Regions from separate parts of the Homo sapiens genome. Here regions 1 and 2 are each linked to region 3. The links are contacts of gene promoters, found by promoter capture Hi-C in blood cells and fetal thymus (Javierre and others, 2016). All regions are on one chromosome and are shown on one strand. The core of a region is centred on a gene start or on the middle of the fragment in contact, and the rest is flanking DNA. Distances in the headings are between cores, read along the strand shown.

The links. Contacts are between HindIII fragments. The CHiCAGO score rates a contact against its expected background, and 5 or more counts as called.
Region 1: a contact is called between the fragment with the promoter of ZNF70 here and the fragment with the promoter of GUCD1 in region 3, in 1 of 17 cell types (total CD8 T cells). The highest score is 5.0, in total CD8 T cells.
Region 2: the fragment with the promoter of SMARCB1 here is called in contact with the fragment with the promoter of GUCD1 in region 3 in 9 of 17 cell types (non-activated CD4 T cells, activated CD4 T cells, erythroblasts and 6 more); the score reaches 10.5 in non-activated CD4 T cells.

Annotation. Positions count from the first base shown.
Region 1 is chr22:23,749,693-23,753,458 of GRCh38, reverse strand. ZNF70 (zinc finger protein 70) reads left to right here and starts at 2,347. Exons shown (of 2, transcript NM_021916.4): 1 at 2,347-2,748. It overlaps VPREB3 (V-set pre-B cell surrogate light chain 3), which reads left to right. Exons shown (of 2, transcript NM_013378.3): 2 at 261-716. The coding sequence ends at 583. RefSeq lists enhancers at 1-561, 1,072-1,131, 1,972-2,031, 1,914-2,589 and a silencer at 2,182-2,631. The HindIII fragment of the contact is 6,484 bases long and covers 1-3,038 here.
Region 2 is chr22:23,785,383-23,788,854 of GRCh38, reverse strand. SMARCB1 (SWI/SNF related BAF chromatin remodeling complex subunit B1) reads right to left here and starts at 1,889. Exons shown (of 9, transcript NM_003073.5): 1 at 1,593-1,889. The coding sequence starts at 1,685. The HindIII fragment of the contact is 10,586 bases long and covers 1-3,472 here.
Region 3 is chr22:24,553,515-24,557,102 of GRCh38, reverse strand. It overlaps GUCD1 (guanylyl cyclase domain containing 1), which reads left to right and starts at 1,965. Exons shown (of 6, transcript NM_001284254.2): 1 at 1,965-2,154. The coding sequence starts at 2,112. It overlaps SNRPD3 (small nuclear ribonucleoprotein D3 polypeptide), which reads right to left and starts at 1,104. Exons shown (of 4, transcript NM_004175.5): 1 at 1,032-1,104. RefSeq lists an enhancer at 1,297-1,396 and a silencer at 1,857-2,216. The HindIII fragment of the contact is 4,396 bases long and covers 921-3,588 here.

The sequences.
Region 1 (3,766 bases), core at 1,098-3,597, 800 kb after region 3:
ACACAGATCCTTGAGGATATGGCACTAATGGAGATTTGGGGGCTAACTCCAAACCCCTCACTCACAAAGGGAGATGGAGGTCCAGATAGGGCACCCTAAGTCACACAGAACCAGGCCTCCTGCACCCCGTTCATTGCTAATCCCATAGCACTGGGCTATGAGCCCTTTGGGACTGGGAGTCTCCATGGAGTCCAACCAAGCCTTCACAGGGCAGGGGTGGGAGGGAAGGGGCTCAGGCTGAGTGGGTTTGTGTCTCGCAGTTTCCCAGACAGTCCTGGCCCAGCTGGATGCACTGCTGGTCTTCCCAGGCCAAGTGGCTCAACTCTCCTGCACGCTCAGCCCCCAGCACGTCACCATCAGGGACTACGGTGTGTCCTGGTACCAGCAGCGGGCAGGCAGTGCCCCTCGATATCTCCTCTACTACCGCTCGGAGGAGGATCACCACCGGCCTGCTGACATCCCCGATCGATTCTCGGCAGCCAAGGATGAGGCCCACAATGCCTGTGTCCTCACCATTAGTCCCGTGCAGCCTGAAGACGACGCGGATTACTACTGCTCTGTTGGCTACGGCTTTAGTCCCTAGGGGTGGGGTGTGAGATGGGTGCCTCCCCTCTGCCTCCCATTTCTGCCCCTGACCTTGGGTCCCTTTTAAACTTTCTCTGAGCCTTGCTTCCCCTCTGTAAAATGGGTTAATAATATTCAACATGTCAACAACAGCTATTGTGAGGGTCATAAGATCCTGGCTGAGAAAAATGACTGTGGTGGGTCTGGGAGTCGAAGACCCACTCCTGGGGTGGGGAGCAGTGTGCGGGGGAATGGGGATTCTGGGGACTGTTGTCAAAGAGGAAGCACCTGAGACTATTGGGGCATGGCCCAGACTCCCCCACCATGGCCCCCTGGGGGCTCAAACTGGTAGCCTGACCTTCCTGTGACCTGAGGAGCCGGAGGGAGAAAAAGGAACCAGCCCTTGCCGCCCCCAACTCTGCATGGCTGGTTATGGTCCAAGGGTTATGGCTCTAGGGTGGCTGGTCCCCATGGAGCTCAGGCTGTTGGCTTGGGGAGGGGCAGCCACTGCCTACCCCTTGGAGTCTGTGCCCAAGGCCCGACAGAGCATTAATGGGGCAGGAAGGCAGGTGTGTGTGGGTAGCATTGGAGGCACTCGAGCGCCAAGGCTGAGGGTGCTGAAGGCAGGTGGGCGGCTGGGGCAGAATCCTTTTTCCCAGGGACAGTGTGTTCTCCTGATGTCCTGTGATTGGGCCAAGGTCTGCGGAGGGAAGCTCTCCCACAAGCTGGGCAGCTGCACCTGAGGGGGGGGTGTCATGGGCAGAACACTGGGTGGAGGGGCCAGTCTTGCCATCAGCAGCAAGGAGGGGGCGGAGATTCCTTTTCTTTTTTTTTTTTTTGTTTTTTGAGATGGAGTCTCGCTCTGTCGCCCAGGCTGGAGTGCAATGGCACTATCTTGGCTCACTGCAACCTCCGCCTCTCAGGGTCAAACGATTCTCCTGTCTCAGTAGCTGGGATTACAGGCGCTTGTCACCACTCCCGGATAATTTTTAGTAGAAACAGGGTTTCACCATGTTGGTCTGGCTGAGTCTCGAACTCCTGACCTCGTGATCCACCCGCCTCCGCCTCCCAAAATGCTGGGATTAAAGGCGTGAGCCACCGCGCCCGGCCAAGGGGGCGGCCATTTCAAGAACACATTCCTCTTCCCTCCCGGTGCGCCTGAGAGGAGGCGCTTCATGTCGAAGTCAGCCCTGGGATGCAGAGAGTTGGGGGGCTCAGGGTCCTGGGATGGTCTCGCAGACACTCCTAGTTCTTCGCCTGCCCCTTCTCATCTCTATTTCTGTGGGGGCGGGGAGGGCAGACAGGAACAGGGCTACCCTTGAAGCAGGTTGGGGGAGGGGGATCCTAACAGGACCCCGGTGCCTGTGGACAGTGACAGGGTCGACAGCTCTGGGGCTCCACTCTCCTTTCCCTGAAGACCCCAGCTGCCTCAGTGGCTTCTGGCTTGCACCCAGCACCAGCGCAGATGCCCCGAGTGCCGGCGGCTCGAGGTCGGCCCGCCCGTCCGGACCTGTTTCCTCCTCTGCTCTCCTGCCAACGCCTGCCCATCTCTGTTTCCCCCACGTCCAGCACGCGCTTCGGGGACGGCCAGAGCCACCATGCCGACTGGAGAGACTCTCCTGATTCGGGTCCTTGTGTCCCGGGGCCCGGGCGGCTTCGCGCGGCGACAACCGGCGCGGTGGGACCACCGAGACGCCGGGACCTCCGCGCGGCCTAGAGTGGTCCCGGAAGTGCCCGCGGGCCGGGGGCGGGGCTCTGGGTGCTCGGGCGGCCGCGGGCTCCGCGTCAGCAGCTGCTGTGGAGCCAGGCAGCGTCGGCCGCGTCGGCCGCGGGTTGGAGCAGCTCAGGTGCGGCCCCGCCCCGCCCGCCTGCGGCCCCGCCCCGGCCCAGGTGAGCTGCCCCGCCCCGGCCCAGGTGAGTGGCCCCGCGTCCGCCGGTGTGACCTGAGTCCGCCTGACCACCTGTCCCTCCGGTGGCCCTGGGTGTGCGTGTCCCCAATCGCGGGGAAGCCTGTAGGGGCGCCACGTCGCCGCCTGGGCAGCGTGTGCGGGTCCGTGGCAACTCTTGGGCCCCCAGCCAGGAAACCTTGACTGCACTAAGAGTTTGCAGGGTGCCCAGGCCCTAGGGACTCTCTGGAGGATGGGATGACAGATGCAGGAGGACCCGGAGAAGGCCCCGACAGAGGTGGGAAGCATGGAGTTCCAGATCTTTGCATTTTCGGTCCAAAAACACTTATCATGTTGTGGGAGACAGATAAAGGGTTGCCAACTTTTTTCTGAGTGGAGACTTCAGGGTGTAGGGGCTATATAGTGGGAATGGAAAACCTCTACGGAGGGAAGTTTGAGAACACCAGGACTTAATGGGTGGGCGGAGGAAGAGTTGCAATCTAAAGATATCAAGAAAGAGAACTTGGAAGCCATGAAAATTGGGAAGAAAGCGAGGGTGGGGATGGGGTTGGGGGGTAGCTCAAAGCTTTCATGCACCTAGGTAGGCAATGTGGGCGGGTGAAGGGATATTGTCACATCTTCGTTTTTCAAGAGAAAGCCAGAAACCTACTGAGTTTTAAATATTGGTAACTAAGGAAAATGAACAGGAAAAGCCAAACTCTTCGAGAGCCAAACATAACATAGCAGGATCTTCAGGCTGCCAATTTGCAACCTCTGAAATGAAGGGTTTTGAGAAGGAGGTATTGGAGAGCAGTGCCAGATGGGGTGGGAAGGTGAAGACCGAGAAGAGAGGGATTGGCAATAAGGAGGTCATAGAATGCCAGAGCTGAGGTCCCAGCTGAAATCGGAAACTCGAAATTTGTCGTGGTGCCATACATAGTTGTATGATTTTTCTTGGCAACATTTAACAACTTAGGAGGAACTGGCCGAGAAGACTGGGACTTAGCGGCTAGTTGCAGCCGGACGAGGAGGTGAGGAGCATGGTGCTAGAGCGTGAGAGTTGAAGTGATGCGCATAGTATGGAGAGTCTAAGCTGGATGGAGAAGGGGTGGAGCTAGAAAAGGAGAACTACAGTAAAAATGGCTTGGATTTCATGAGGTCGAAAAGCACAAATTGAGTGAGAGAGCTGGAAGAGTTGGAGATTATGGGTTGCTGAAGAGGAGGGGGAGGGTGAGAGGAGTTGAAGTGATCAAAGAATTTTTGAAAATACTTTAGGGCTGGGCGAGGGGGCTCACGCCTATAATACCAGCACTTTC
Region 2 (3,472 bases), core at 640-3,139, 770 kb after region 3:
GTGGAAAATGCTAACACTAAAGTTCTGATGCTATTGACCTTAGTCTCATCCATGGGACTCAGTGTGACCATCTTGAGGCTTCATTCATTCATGCTATGCTCAATTGTGAAGGATAAAACCCACAAGTTTAAAAAGTATGAATGCGCTGAGTGTGAGTGCAGTAGCTCACACCTGTCATTCCAGCACTTTGAGAGGCTGAGGTGCAAGGATCACTTGAGCCCAGGAGTTCAAGACCAGCCTGGGCAACATGGCAAAACCCTGTCTCTACAAAAAATACAAAAATTAGTCGGGCACGGTGGTGCACACCTGTAGTCCCAGGTACTTGGGAGGCTGAGGCAGGAGGATCGCTTGAGCCCAGGAGGTCAAGGCTGCAGTGAGCCGAGATCACACCACTGCACAAAGTGAGATCTTTTTTCAAAAATAAAAGAAAATAAAGTACGAATAAAATGCTGGAATATGATACTAAAAACTGCTATAAGGAGAAGAAACTCTTGGCATTTCATGATAGCTTTAATTCTCCAGGATTGGCACTTACTTCCTTACATGAGATTCTACTGCTTGACATTTGTACATCTGAACTGTATATCCATAATTTTTTTAAAAAGGTAACATATACTAGCTGGGGACTGCCTTTGGAGCAAAAAAGGCTAGTTTGAGACAATCTGTAAAAACCTAATATATGGCCGGGTGTGGTGGCTCATGCCTGTAATCCTAGCACTTTGGGAGACCCAGACGGGCAGACTGCTTGAGCCCAGGAGTTGGAGACCTGCCTGCGCAACATAGCCAGACCCTGTCTCTATAAAAAACAAAAAACAAGAACCTAATAGACTTGGAACAAACACCCATTCAAAGGCCAGTAGAGTTTTCCTGAAGTCAGTCATCCAGTTGATGCAACAAAATGCAGCCACTCTAGTTAAGGGTTAAACATCCTTAGGCTCTTTCCCCTGTAATAATTCAGAATCAGTTCACAGATATGGAAAGTGTCAATCGCTTCAGAACTGCTGAAAGATCTAGCTTAGGCATGGGGCCCTTATTCACCCAAAAGCAAACATCTTCCTCCAATCTGTTTCTTCACCGGTAAACAAAGGTCAAAAGACCTCCACTGCTCACCTAAGAGGCAACAAACACAATGGGGATGAGCCCTCACTAAGTCCAGGGTTTCCAGCCTGCCATTTGAGGTTCCCACAAGTAGCAATACGGGGAGGGGTGCACGTGAAATTTACGACATCTAAAAAGGGTCAAAGGCAGCAGTGCAGTCCCCCAAGCGTCGCAGGGGCTAACTCAATATCCCGTTTCTTTGCGTCTGACTGGAAACCAACCCAGCGCGGAACCACTGGGGCCCCTCGCGGCGCCAAAATCTTGGCAGCACTGAAGGCGGCGGACCTCGGCGAAATAAGTAAGGAAATCCCAGGTCGATGAGGGGGCGGGGGCCACACCCGACACGCCCACTAGGCCACGCCCCACAGCCCCGAGCGCGCGCGCGCGCGCCCGCCCGCCCCGATGAATGGAGACGCGCGCTCTCGGCGCATGGGCCCGCCCCGGGGCTCCCGCGGGGCCGAGCCCGGGGAGGGCGAGAACGCGCCCCGGGCTACCTCGGAGCCGATCATGTAGAACTCGCCGTCGTCCTCCAGCTGGAACTTCACGGGCTTCTGCCCGAAGGTCTTGCTCAGCGCCATCATCATCATTGCGGCGGCAGAGGCGGGCGGCCGGAGCCGGGCTGCGAGGGATCAGGAGGGCTGGGGCGGGGCCGGGGCGTGCTGGGCCGAGGGAAACCGAAGCCGGAAGGCGAAATGCGGACCGGGCCGGGTACTGGCGCCTCAGCCGGGCTCCTCAGCCGCCGCCGCCGCCGCAGACGACGACCAGGCCGCCCTCAGTGCGCAGGCGCTGGCGTTGACGCTGACGCGCGCGCCGCCGCTCAAACAAAAGGCCGGGCGCGCCTCCGCGGACCCCTTAAAGGAGCCACGACTAATTTCTCTTTCTCCCAGGCTGCCTCCCAAGTCGTGGTGTAGAGGACTTCTCACGGACAAAAATAGCCAATGAGGTCCTGACTCAAGCAGTGGCTTTCCCAGTCTTACAGCCAGGACTGGAACTGAGCCCAGGGGAAAAGCAACGAAGTGAGGCCTGAAGGAGGAGGACCTAGTATCTGGAAGCCTGGGTGGTCTGGGCATGCTTTGGGACCCCAATCTCGTGCCTTAGCTTCCCCACCCCTAAAACGCAGTGCAGCTGAGCAGATAGGCAGGCCCCTAGGAAGAGATATCCCAGTTCCGGGCCTACGGCTGTCCCTGCAGCTGTGGAGGTGGGCAAAATGACAACAGCGGATGAGGCTTGGCAATGTTCAAAGGCCCAGGTGGTATTTGGTTTGGCTGGTGCATCAGATGAGCGTTGGAAGGGAGAGACACCTTCCACCTTCTCCATTCCTCTCTTAGCCTACACTCTGCTTAACCGAGCCCTGCAGTGGGGAGTGAAACCAGGCAGCCCAGCCCTGTGGCTCTGCCTCTTGGCTCTTACAGCGCGAAGCTAGTGAAACTAATGAAAGTCTGAAAGCAATCATGATTGAATAATGCAGGGAGTAAAACAGTGGCCCACTACTGATGATTTCACACCGTTCAATCTAATGAAATTGCAGCTGTGGCTGGGCTCAGCGGCTCATGCCTGTAATCCCAACTCTTTTTTTTTTTTTTGAGGCTGGAGTCTCCTGCCTCAGCCTCCCAAGTAGCTGGGACTACAGGCACCCGCCACCACGCCCAGCTAATTTTTTGTATTTTTAGTAGAGACAGGGTTTCACCATGTTAGCCAGGATGGTCTCGATCTCCTGACCTCGTGATCCGCCCCCCTCGGCCTCCCAAAGTGCTGGGATTACAGGTGTGAGCCACTGCGCCCGGCCTTGTAATCCCAACTCTTTAGGAGGCCAAGGCAGGGAGGATCACTTGAAGCCAGGAGTTTGAGACCAGACTGGACAAGACAGCAAGACCCTGTCTCTACAAAAATTCTAAAATAAATAAGCTGGGTGTGGCATGGCGGTGTGCACCTGTAGCCCCAGCTACTTGGGAAGTGGAGAGGGGAAGATCCCTTGAGCCCAGGAGTTCAAGGTTATAGTGAGCTGATTGCACCACTGCACTGCAGCCTGGGCAACAAAGGGAGACCCTGCCTCTCTTAAAAAAAAAAAAAATGCAACTATGCTATTACGAAGACACACATGGGGCTGGAAGGTAGGGCAAGGAGACACTGGAGAGTTGGGAAGGGCAGTGACTGAAGTTGCTTTGTTCTGTATCCTCACAGTGGTGGGAAACCAAAGTACAGTCATCCCTCAGTATCCATGGGAATTGGTTCCAGGACCCCCTGCAGATAATAAAGTCCACAGATGCTCAAGTCCATTATATAAAATGGTGTCATACTTGCATATAACCTACACACACTTTCCTGTATACCTTAAATCATCTCTAGATTCCTTATACTACCTAATACAATGCAA
Region 3 (3,588 bases), core at 716-3,215:
ACATGTAGCTAGTGGCTACCCTATGGAAGGTGCAGATACAGACCAAAGGACCATGCACATCTAGGAGAGCAGGCTGTACTTTTAATTCAGCCCTTTAACCCTTCACTTATTTTACTATCAAGGATATTGAGAAAATATCAAAGTGACAACGTGCTATATGCAGGAAATGCTTGTCATGGAGGAAAATCAGGGAAAGCACCTGACTTGACCTAATCAAAAGCATCAAGCAGTGAACTTTTTATTGAGATGAGCAACAACTCTAAGTTTCAACTTAAGCGTACCTAAGACAGGAGAACATGAGGTTGAAAGGACAGGCTCCTTTGGTGAGGATCCCTGGCTTTCAGCCTTAGGAGTCTAGATTTTATGCTGAAGGTAGTGGAGAACCACTGCAGAATTATATGTAAAGAATGACGCAATGAAAAGATAGCAGCATTTATTTACAAAATGGATAGAACGTAAGGTTTAGAAGCAGAGAAACTTGTTAAAACTTCTGCAACAGTTAAAACTGCTGCAACAGTGTGGAAAGCATGAGGGGACCATTGCCTGAAAGGGGACTGGGGCAGAGATACAAAGAACTTTTTAAAAAATGACCGGCTGGGCGCGGTGGCTCACGCCTGTAATCCCAGCACTTTGGAAGGCCGAGGCCGGTGGATCCCTTGAGCCCAGGAGTTCGAGACCAGCCAGGGCAACATGGTGAAACCCCGTCTCTACTTAAAAAAAAAAAAACAAAAAAAAACTCATAGGATTTGGGGGAAGGAGATAGTCAATCAGAAATGACTTCGAGATTACTGCCTGGAAGCTTTGAAAAACACTCACCTGGAGAGATACAGAATGTGAGAAGCATGCACGTTGAGGGGAAAGCTAATGAACTTACTTCCAGGAGCTAGTGAGGCGACGCTGATGTTTGGGTGGCCCAAGCTTCCCGCTTTCTTCCCTCCCCGAGCCCCGCAGAGTTCCATGCAGCAAGTCTTTCTCCAGCCCCTGGCCCCTCACAGGCGCCTCGACCTCCCCTCGCCCGTCCCCAGCCTCACCGGCTCTGGCCTACTTTTCTTCTCTTCGGTCCGCTGCGAAAGATGCTACGGCGAAGGCGTGAGTCAAGCGAATGGCGGGCCTAACACCCAGAATTCCACTCTTTCCCAAAATGCTGCGCGCAGGGCCCGCCTCCTTCCTTTCCCCAGTGTTGAGCGCGGTCTCGCCTCCGCTTCCTCCTCACTCCGCCTGCCGGCTGGGAAACTAGGGCACCAGTACGATAGTTCCGGCACCGGAAAAGAGGGCTGATGACTGGGCCCGGGGGCCGCCGCAACGACCCTTGGGGCCGGCAAAGAGCCAGAGAGGGTGCTCACACTTCCAAGCACCCCACACCAAGGACAGGCTGGACGGCAAGGCGGAGACGCGGGGCTTGGGCCCTCAGACCGGGGACAGCAGGAGGTTGGGCCAAGGGCCAGGACTTCCCGTCACAATTTCATTTGTTGATCCCGGCACCGCCAGGTAAGGGGGGCCCTGAGTGAGGCTAGGTATCTGGTACGGATAAAGTTAGGTATAGAGTAGAGCGGCTGCCCGCTCAGGGTTATCCCTAAAGACAGTTGGAGGAGAGTTGCTTGGGGCCTCGGGGATGCACTGGGCGGGATCAGGGCTTACACCTAGGACTGGCAAAAGAGCGGGACCCGGCAGAGGCGGGGCTTGCCGAAGGGACGAGCCTCTATTCAGGAAATGCACGAGCTTTGGGGCGGGGCTCAAAGAAAGGGGCGGGGCTTCCGGGGCCCGCGTCCTGGTGAGCTGCGCGTCTGCGCGAGGATTGGGCGAGAGGGTGGGGCCACTCAACGCTGAGGCGGCGAATGGCCGGAGCAGACTTAAATCAAGAGGCTGGGGACCTCTAAGATCAAAGTTTGGGGCGGGGCCTAAGGAGGGGGCGGGGCCTCCAGATTCGAGACCTGGAAGGGCTGGGGCGGCGCTTGGGGCGGCCCAGCCGCCGCCTCCCGTTCTCTCCTCCGCAGCGGCGGCGGTGGCGGAGAAGGAACTCGACACGCACCGACCGCCCTCCCGCCCCAGCCGAAGCGGAAGCTGTAGCCCGCTCTGGGCCGGGGCCATGGGCGCCCCGCGCCGCCCGGGTCATGAGGACGGAGGCGGAGGCAGCGGGGCCGCCGCTCGAGCCCGGTCAGTGCCTCTCTGTGGGCCCAGTCTTCACCCTAGGAACGAAAGGGACCCCTCCCTAGCGCGGGGCAGGGTCCAGTCGCGCGACCTTGGGCCGACTCCCGCCTCGCCCCCACACCCGCCTGGTTCCAGTCAGTGGGGGTTTCCTGACACTCGCAGGATTGCGACCCTTGTCAGCATGGTGGGAAGGTCCGGGTAGCAGGGGCACCACCTTCCCCAGAAGCGAAAAGTCCTGCTGGAGCCGCCTTGGGAGCTCCCATGCCTTGGGAAACCGTGGAGGACTGAGGCTGGGAAGGGCAGGAAACTGGCCGAGAGCACCGAGCAATGGAAGGGCCAGTGCCCTGGCCTCCGAGACTCGGCGTTTTGTCTTGCTCTTGTTCTTCACTTTCGTTCTCTCTGCCACGCGGTAGCCTGAGCCCCTTTGGGGCGGAGACCCGGACTGGTATTCAATGTCTTGGCCGTTAGTTTGCTTGCCCAAGACGTAGGGGAGGGGGAAGACGTGATTCCTGTCCTGCTGAAGGCGCGGGGTTGATGACAAACGGAGTTCTAGCTAGTAAACTCTGAAGTGAAGTGCCAACTGTGGAAGAGGTCAACAGCATGTGGGACCCTGACCTTCAGGTGTCACTCCCAGGGAGTGTTCCCTTTTGTGTCTGCTGTGTGGAGTTGGTGGGGGATTTACAACCCTCCTCCTCCAGTTGTCTAGCCCTGTGGTCTGAGACAAGATACTTGCCTTTCCTGAGCCTCAGAGGAGGAATGGCTTACATTCACAGGGAGTGTTCTATGAGGCAGGCGCGCGCTGCGTGCAGTTGTTTACATGCAGTGCCTCATTAATCCTCATAACGAACCAGTGAAGTAGGTGCCCACTGTGATTTGCACTTTTGCAGCTGAGCAGACTGAGTCTGAGATGGGTTAAGTATTAAAGGCTAGTGCACTGCTTGCCTTCCTTAGTGACAGCCACTAACTGAGCTCAGGCCAGGGCCTTCCAGGCAGCCCTTTGGCTCCAGGCAGCAACGTCTGGCTGTGGCTTTGTGTTTAGAAGGCTAAAGCTGTTATGGGGACAGATGCCAAGGCCTCGCCTAACCTTATCACCCCCAACATGAGCACCTCTAGGTCCGATCCGCCCTTGCCGAGGCTGGAGATGGCCCTGTGGGGCCTGCCAGGCCTCAGGATCAAGGAGTTCTAGAGCGCAGGGCAAGAGGAGGAGGCGCAGCTGAGTCTCTGAGAGAGAGCTGCTGTCTTGTGCCACATTTTATAGCTGGACATGGAAAGGCATGGACAGTCATAGCCTGGCAGAAGATAGCCCAGCTAGTCAGTGTCACAGCCCAAGCCACAGAGTAAGGAGGGAGCCTCACACAGAGGGCTGTAGTCTGGAAGCCTGGGGGAGGAGGGGTGCAGAGCAGGGAAGTGACAAGTAGGCCTGGGCATCTCAAGGTATGA